Linked DNA regions of Homo sapiens: region 2 is linked to region 1. Evidence: promoter capture Hi-C in human tissues and cell types (Jung and others, 2019). All regions are on one chromosome and are shown on one strand. Each heading gives the region's core, a stretch centred on a gene start or on the middle of the fragment in contact. The rest is flanking DNA. Distances are from core to core; before and after follow the strand shown. Region 1 holds the start of SIAH3 (siah E3 ubiquitin protein ligase family member 3). Region 2 has its middle 27 kb from the start of ERICH6B.

What was found. Contacts are between HindIII fragments. The study calls those that stand out against the background at their distance.
Region 2: a fragment that was not itself captured here is called in contact with the fragment with the promoter of SIAH3 in region 1 in 2 of the 25 tissues and cell types used here (mesenchymal stem cells and mesendoderm cells).

What each region holds. Positions count from the first base shown.
Region 1 is chr13:45,850,136-45,853,815 of GRCh38, reverse strand. SIAH3 (siah E3 ubiquitin protein ligase family member 3) reads left to right here and starts at 2,063. Exons shown (of 2, transcript NM_198849.3): 1 at 2,063-2,321. The coding sequence starts at 2,187. RefSeq lists an enhancer at 2,954-3,491. The HindIII fragment of the contact is 6,525 bases long and covers 1-3,680 here.
Region 2 is chr13:45,641,350-45,644,539 of GRCh38, reverse strand. No RefSeq gene overlaps it. Among named protein-coding and RNA genes, the nearest start is that of ERICH6B, 27 kb to the right of the region's middle. The HindIII fragment of the contact is 3,633 bases long and covers 114-3,190 here.

The sequences.
Region 1 (3,680 bases), core at 814-3,313:
TCTTTGACCTATTTGCTGGCATCCTTATTTTGTGTACAATCATTTTATTTTAAAAATACCTTTCCAAAAAAAAAAAAAAAACAGCAGAAATCCCCATTCTCATGGAACTTACTTCTAGCAGGATGACGGAAACAATACATCTTTAAAAAGTAAAGAAAAATGAAACAAAACAGAACAAAAAATCAACACAATCGTTCCACTAGAGCCAAAGATGTAAAAATAATTTGAACCTTTCTAAATTATGAATATATCTTTAAGGAATCTATGAGAGTATCTGCACACTTTTAGTTTTTAAAACAAGTAAGCCAATGAAAGGACATTAAATGTTTTCCCAATGAACTGCTGAAAGCTTATTTTCTGGACAATTCAAACTTTAGAAAGCAGATTCTGGTTTTGTGGGCCAGCAACCTTTATTATATGCCATGTAACAAGTGGCTCCAGGGACTCAGGTCCTATAAAAATATCACATTGATGAGGTTCTAATCAGTTCAAATGTTGTCATCTTCTAGTTTGGTGCCAGTGTCGTTATTTTAAAAGTGCAAAGTTTCCATGTTTAATTGGTGTTCAGCTTGTCTCTTAAAACATTGGTTTGGTTTTAAATGCAAGTTAAAATGAACAGCCTGGGCTCTGTCCTGGCATCAATAAACTTGTGCATTATTTTTATCCCGTATGTTATTCTGTTGTTAGTTTAACTGCCTGACCAGGTCACAGACCTAGGTGTTCCACGTGTGCATATGTTTTGCATACATTACAACCCAAGCATTGTAGCCAGAGCAGAACAAGAGCCATGAGGGAGGGGGCTCACACTCACAGGGTACAATTCACAGTGGGGGCTGATCCTGCTCCAGGCAGCACTGGATCTGGCCTGACTTCTCAAGAGAGAAACAACCAGGGAAGAGGGAAAACACAATACACTGAACTCCCCTGCTTTAGCTGCAAAGACTAAACCATCAGAGCTAGTCCCGAAAAACCCAAAACCCTTCAAGTACTGCTTAGGAATCTTTCTTCAAGAACCAGCGGCCTCCCGCCCACCCACCAGCCCTGTTCTGGGGAGCAAGGACAGGTTTGCAGTCTGAGGACTGGAATGCCCTCTGCCTGTGCCAGCACAGAAATGTGCTGCTAGCATTTGCAGAAACAAGTAAATGATGTGGTATGTGCATCCTTAATCTCTATTTTAATGTCTCCAGCAATCTAGTGGTTAATTAGCAATTTGCTGCCCACCAATATGCAAATGAATGACAAGCAAAGGTTCTCTGCATCTGTAATTATTTTGCTGATTTACAAGCCTCTTTCCTCTCAGTGTAGGTTTTTCTGTGTGTGTGCATTCATGCATCAGGGATTTCATTATTTTTTGAAGCATACTCTGTGCATTTTTATCCTTTAATACTTTCAGACTTCAGTAATCACAGTATTTTGAAAAAAAGAAAATATATATATATGTATAGTAATATATATGTATGTGCTTCCCTCCACCCCTCAACTCCAAATGAATTTGTCAGGGATTCTTTTCTTTGATAAAGAGTGGAGAGTAAGATTTATCAAGGGGCTGTAATCCAAATTGCAGAAAGTCAGAACGCAAGATTGAAAGATACACATTTTTGCTGCTGCCAAGTCCTTATCTGGATTCAGAGTCTAGTAATATTTTATTTTCTCCCAAGCAGCTCTGGTGAGTCGAGCCATGATCTGCGTTATCCATCTGCCTACTTTGGAGCGGGGTGTTGTACTATTTGGCGGCTTAAACGCTTTACGTTCTTGCCAGGGCATTAAGAAAGGCTCTCATGTTAAATTAAGTCAATTAATAAATGGAGACACATTAAGCAATCAATTTTGTCAGCCTATCTCCCCAGCATTAGGTATGGTTGGCTGTAATCACAAGATAAATGCAATGTGCTGATCTATGGTAATGTTCAATAATACATTCTCCGCCAGGCTCAATTCATCAGGGAGTTTCGGTAGGGAAGGCATTTGTTATTGGCTGTCTCTGCACCTCAAGGATAACATTTCTGTCCTTTTGATTGGCCGCCTCACTGCTGCAAGATTCTAACCGTCTTATTTTGATGATGAATATGAAGGCGCGCTAAGCCGGGCTGGAGCGGAGTGTCTCAGAGGCTGCGCTCCTTCCAGGGCCCAAGGACTCACAGCTTCCTCCGCTGCCTTCCCGGACCAACAACCCCCCAAAAGTTGTGATGCTTTTCTTTACCCAGTGCTTTGGGGCTGTATTAGATCTCATTCATCTCCGGTTTCAGCACTACAAGGCTAAACGGGTTTTCTCCGCTGCCGGGCAACTTGTCTGTGTCGTCAACCCCACACACAACCTAAAGGTGAGTCTCTGTGTCATTTTACCTTCACCGGGCTCAGGTTCAAGTCCTTTCTCGGAGGCGGCAGCGACCCTCCGGCGAACGTGTGCAGCCCTTTGCAAACCCGGGTCTCGGGGGCTGGGACGGTGTCTGGAACCCGGCGTGTTTGCCTCGGCTCACTCTCGCTCTCTAGGTGATTGGGTGCTGTTAGTGACCGAGTGTTGTTTCCCCAGCTGGCAGGAAAAGCTGGATTGATGGTCTGATGTCTTTCCCCGACGCTGTCAACCTGAGAGTGGCGTGGGGGGCAGAAGTGAGGGTGGTGGAGGGAACAGGGGGGCGTCCCCATCACTCCCCCTACTATTTGTGGGCAAGTGCTCAGGAGACAGGATTTGAAGTTAGCCAAATTCTCTCTGTCCCATGTGTTGGGAGAGGTGGTCAAACACGAGGATTTTAGAAGCTACTGGGGGGTGAGGAATCCTGAAACAGGGACTTGGACGTCGGTGGGGTGGGGGGAGGGTTCTTTCTGCAAAGTGTTTGTCCTTGTCCTCAGACTCGTGTGTGTGTGTGTGTGTGTGTGTGTGTGTGTGTGTGTGTGTGTGGTGTCGGGAGGATTTTGGCTTATTTCCTTCCTGCTGGTTAGATGCGCTCTGTGTACTGGAGCAGGATTTGCCTGGCTTGTGTAATAATGACACCAGCTTCTAGCTGCTGCCGCCGCTGCCTGGAGCACCCTAGGCAGCTGGGTGCTGGGTTGCTCGCGGCTGCCTAGCTGCCCCGGGGCCTCTGCATTTGTACCCTCAGGTCAGTGCCCTTTTAGAGACCAGACAAAATATGGGGTCCGGCAGAGCCGCTTAACATCACAGCCAAGACTGACTGGGAAAGGAATGATGGGCCACTGGTTAGGGGTAGTAGGGAGGAGGGGAAGTCAGGGAGGTGGGGGCTGGGGAGAGGGTGCAGCTGAACTCCCCGGATGGGAAACTCAGCACCTTGCCTCTCTCCTAACATAAAAGATGGACTCATTGGAAGTTCCTTTCCTGTACTCCTGTGTAAGGCAGGCAGGACTGAGTGCCGGGGGAGGGGCCGTGTCTGTAGCGACAGTGCCTGACAGTCTCTGTGAGGATAGATCTGTCCCTCTGACCACTGCTGTTGGGCAGGAAGAGCATTGCCTGTTGTCCATTACTTTATAAACTCCCACGGCCGGACTGTCCTCAGCTGGAGCCCCGCAGGTCAGCGCTGATGGGTGCCCCCACTCCTAGAAGTTCCGCCGAAAGACAGCTGCCTGGAGCTGCTGGGGTTACATGCCAAGGCCAGTCCTGGGGGAGGGGCGATGGACTATCCTGGGACCCCTATGGTGCATCTGACCTAGGATCTGACTCTCTCTGATAT
Region 2 (3,190 bases), core at 681-3,180, 210 kb after region 1:
TTAATTGGTCTAGTCGAGTTTTCAACTTCTTTAGTCAATTTTAGTGACTTAAATTATGATTTCTCATGGGCCAGTAGTTGTGCCCTCACATTTGTATCATAATCTAATATATATTCTCAGTCTCTCTCTCTCTCATTCTCATTCTCTCACCCTCTTTTCTCTCACCACCAACATTAATCAGGCTTTCTTGCAAGGAATTTATTCTCTCTTTTATTGATTTTTTAAAGAAATCATCTCATTTAACTTCCACATTTGGAGAGAGTTCCATTTTATTAATTTCAGCTCTCTGTAAGTTGCTTTGTTACTTTTTTTTCTAATTTCTTAAGATGAAGCTAAAATCCTTGTTTTATCTGTCTTCTTTAATAATAAAGGTACAATGTGTTTTCATTTTCTGTCTTCTGGATCATTTGTAATTTCAATTTCCTCTTCAATTCAAAAGTTATCTAGAAAAGTCTTGATTTTCTCTTTTTTTTTTTTTTCAAGTGAAAGCAAGTTTATTAGGAAAGTGAAGGAATAAAAGAATGGCTACTCCAAAGACAGAGCAACCCCAAGGGTTGCTGGTTCCCCATTTTTATGTTTATTTCTTGATGATATGCTAAACAAGGGGTGGATTATTCATGCATCCCTTTTTTAGACCATATAGGTTAACTTCTGGACATTGTCATGGCATTTGTAAACTGTCACGGTGCTGGTGGGAGTGTAGCAGTGAGGACGACCAGAGTTCACGCTTGTCGCCATCTTGGTTTTTGTGGGTTTTGGCCATCTTCTTTACTGCAATCTGTTTTATCAGCAAGGTCTTTGTGACCTGTATCTTGTACTGACCTCCTATCTCATCCTGTGACTTAGAATGCCTTAACCATCTGGGAATATAGCCCAGTAGGTGTTAGCCTCATTTTACCCAGCTCCTATTCAAGATGAAGTTGCTCTGGTTCAAACGTCTCTGACATTTCCCCCCTCCCTTTCATAAGAGAACCCTTAATCCTAAGGGTTGCAGAGGGATAAAGATCCATCTTCTGTAACTTCTTCAGGCTAAATAGGGATAATGATATTCCTGCCTAACTGTGAGTGTCTCTTGTATTTGGGGTAGAGAGGAGCTCAGTCAGAAAGCATCAGTATGGTAAGGGCCATTCATAACTCTTGAGTTCCAACAAAAGGTGATACCTGGAAGATTAATACATGTTGAATTTAAGAAAATATTCAGTAAGCTTGTCCTGCCTTCCTACACAAAGAGCACAGCAGCAACTTATTCCACAACAACAGTAAAACACAATAAGTAAAATTATTCCAAGTAAACTAATTTACATAGAACTAATTCCAGTTCTATGAACTGGGCAACTGTGGAACCAAGCTGATATGGGGTCGCTAGCTGATTCCAATGTACCCAAAATTAGAATATTGATCCAGATTTTTACATTACCCAATCCCTCTTGTTTCTTCTGAGCAGCAGTCAAGAGATCAGTGGTTGGTTCACAGGAATAAGTAGGGTTAGCCTAAATTGCAGAAACAAACTTAAAAATAACTTATGAGACTAAAATTTAGTAACAAGTGTACCATAGTTCTTGTAACATATTTCTCTCTTGTTTCCCATTTTTACTAAAGACAAATCATGGTAAGACTGATTTGCATTATTATGCTTGGCCTGATTATTTGTATAAAGTGCAGGAAGAATAATTATTTTTCACATAGATTCTTTTTAAATTGGCTTTGATGGAACTCTGTTCCATAGAAGAAATCTCAGATAAGACTTTTTTTTAAGCCAAGCCTACCATGGGTTTGTACCCTCAAATACCTATGAGTTGAGTGAATTCCTCTCCTCTTGGGGTCCCAAGATAACTTGGGGCTCCTGGGTCTGTGAGAAAGTGACATTCTTTACTTATCACAGGTCATAAACCCTCTACAGGGACTGCATAGGTAAAGTATGAGGCCAGTTCCCCAAGGGGCTTTTATTGGCTTTAAAAGTCAAGTTTGATTCCTTAAAGCACAGCATAGCATTCCAGTCAAAGTCTTGGTAAAATAACCAGTTTTTCCAATTGTGTCCTGTTACAAAAGAAAACAGATTCTTATTGCACTTATGCAAATAACTATGTTGCCATATGTTAAGAATACTCACAAATAGTTTTCAAATTTTGGAGAAATCAGGTAGAGAGAAACAAATATGGTCCAAATTTTGTTCACAGGAGTATACGTTACTCAATTGTTAAAAGCTGTAAATAGCTCAAAAGAAAAGTTTTCTTGACTCACATATAAAACTGTTTCTTAAGTAGTCTCAATTTCATATTACAGTGTTGACTCTTAGTGACTTTTACTTTTGGTGAAAACCTTAATAAGTTTGGGATTTTAATTATGTGCTAGGTGTAGAGCCTAGGACAGCAGACAGAAGTGCAGATAAGGTCTGATTCTTTCCAGCATCTAACTTCACGTGTGCCAGGTCTTACCTAGAAAAAGTCAGCCCCGATCAGTTCTGCAGTCTATTTCCTTTGGATTGGAGTCTCCTCAGTATCGTCCCTTCCATGTTTCACCAGAAGAAACATGTTACTGGACCTCACCACTTACCAAAAGCTAGGGGTTTCCATACTATAGTCTCTTCAGTGGTCACCAGAAAGATGTTACAGGAAAGGGGTCCTGATCCCTTTCTGTTCTGGGCCCTGAGAACCCCAAGAGAGGGTTCTCAGATCTCACACAAGAAAGAATTCAGGGTGAGTCCACAAAGTGAAAGCAAATTTATTAGGAAAGTAAAGGAATAAAAGAATGGCTACTCAATAGACAGAGTAGCCAAGTCTTGATTTTCAAATAGTCAAATTTTGAGAGAGGTGAGAGCAGCAGTAAGAAGAATCGTTTTCTTATTATTTTACTGTTATTTGATTGTTACCAGAGAAGGTGACTTTGAAATCTCTATTTTCAATTCCAGGCCAAGATGGCCAAATAGGAACAGCTCCAATGTGCAGCTCCCAGCAAGACCTAAACAGATGATGGGTGATTTCTGCATTTTCAACTGAGGTACCCAGTTCATCTCACTGGGAATGGTTAGACAGTGGGTGCAGCCCATGGAGGACAAGCAGAAGCAGGATGAGGCATCACCTCACCCGGGAAGCGCAAGGGGTCAGGGCATTACCCCTCCTAAACAAAGGAAGTCATGAGGGACTGTGGCATTAGGGATGGTGCTCTCCAGCCCACATACTACGTTTTTCCA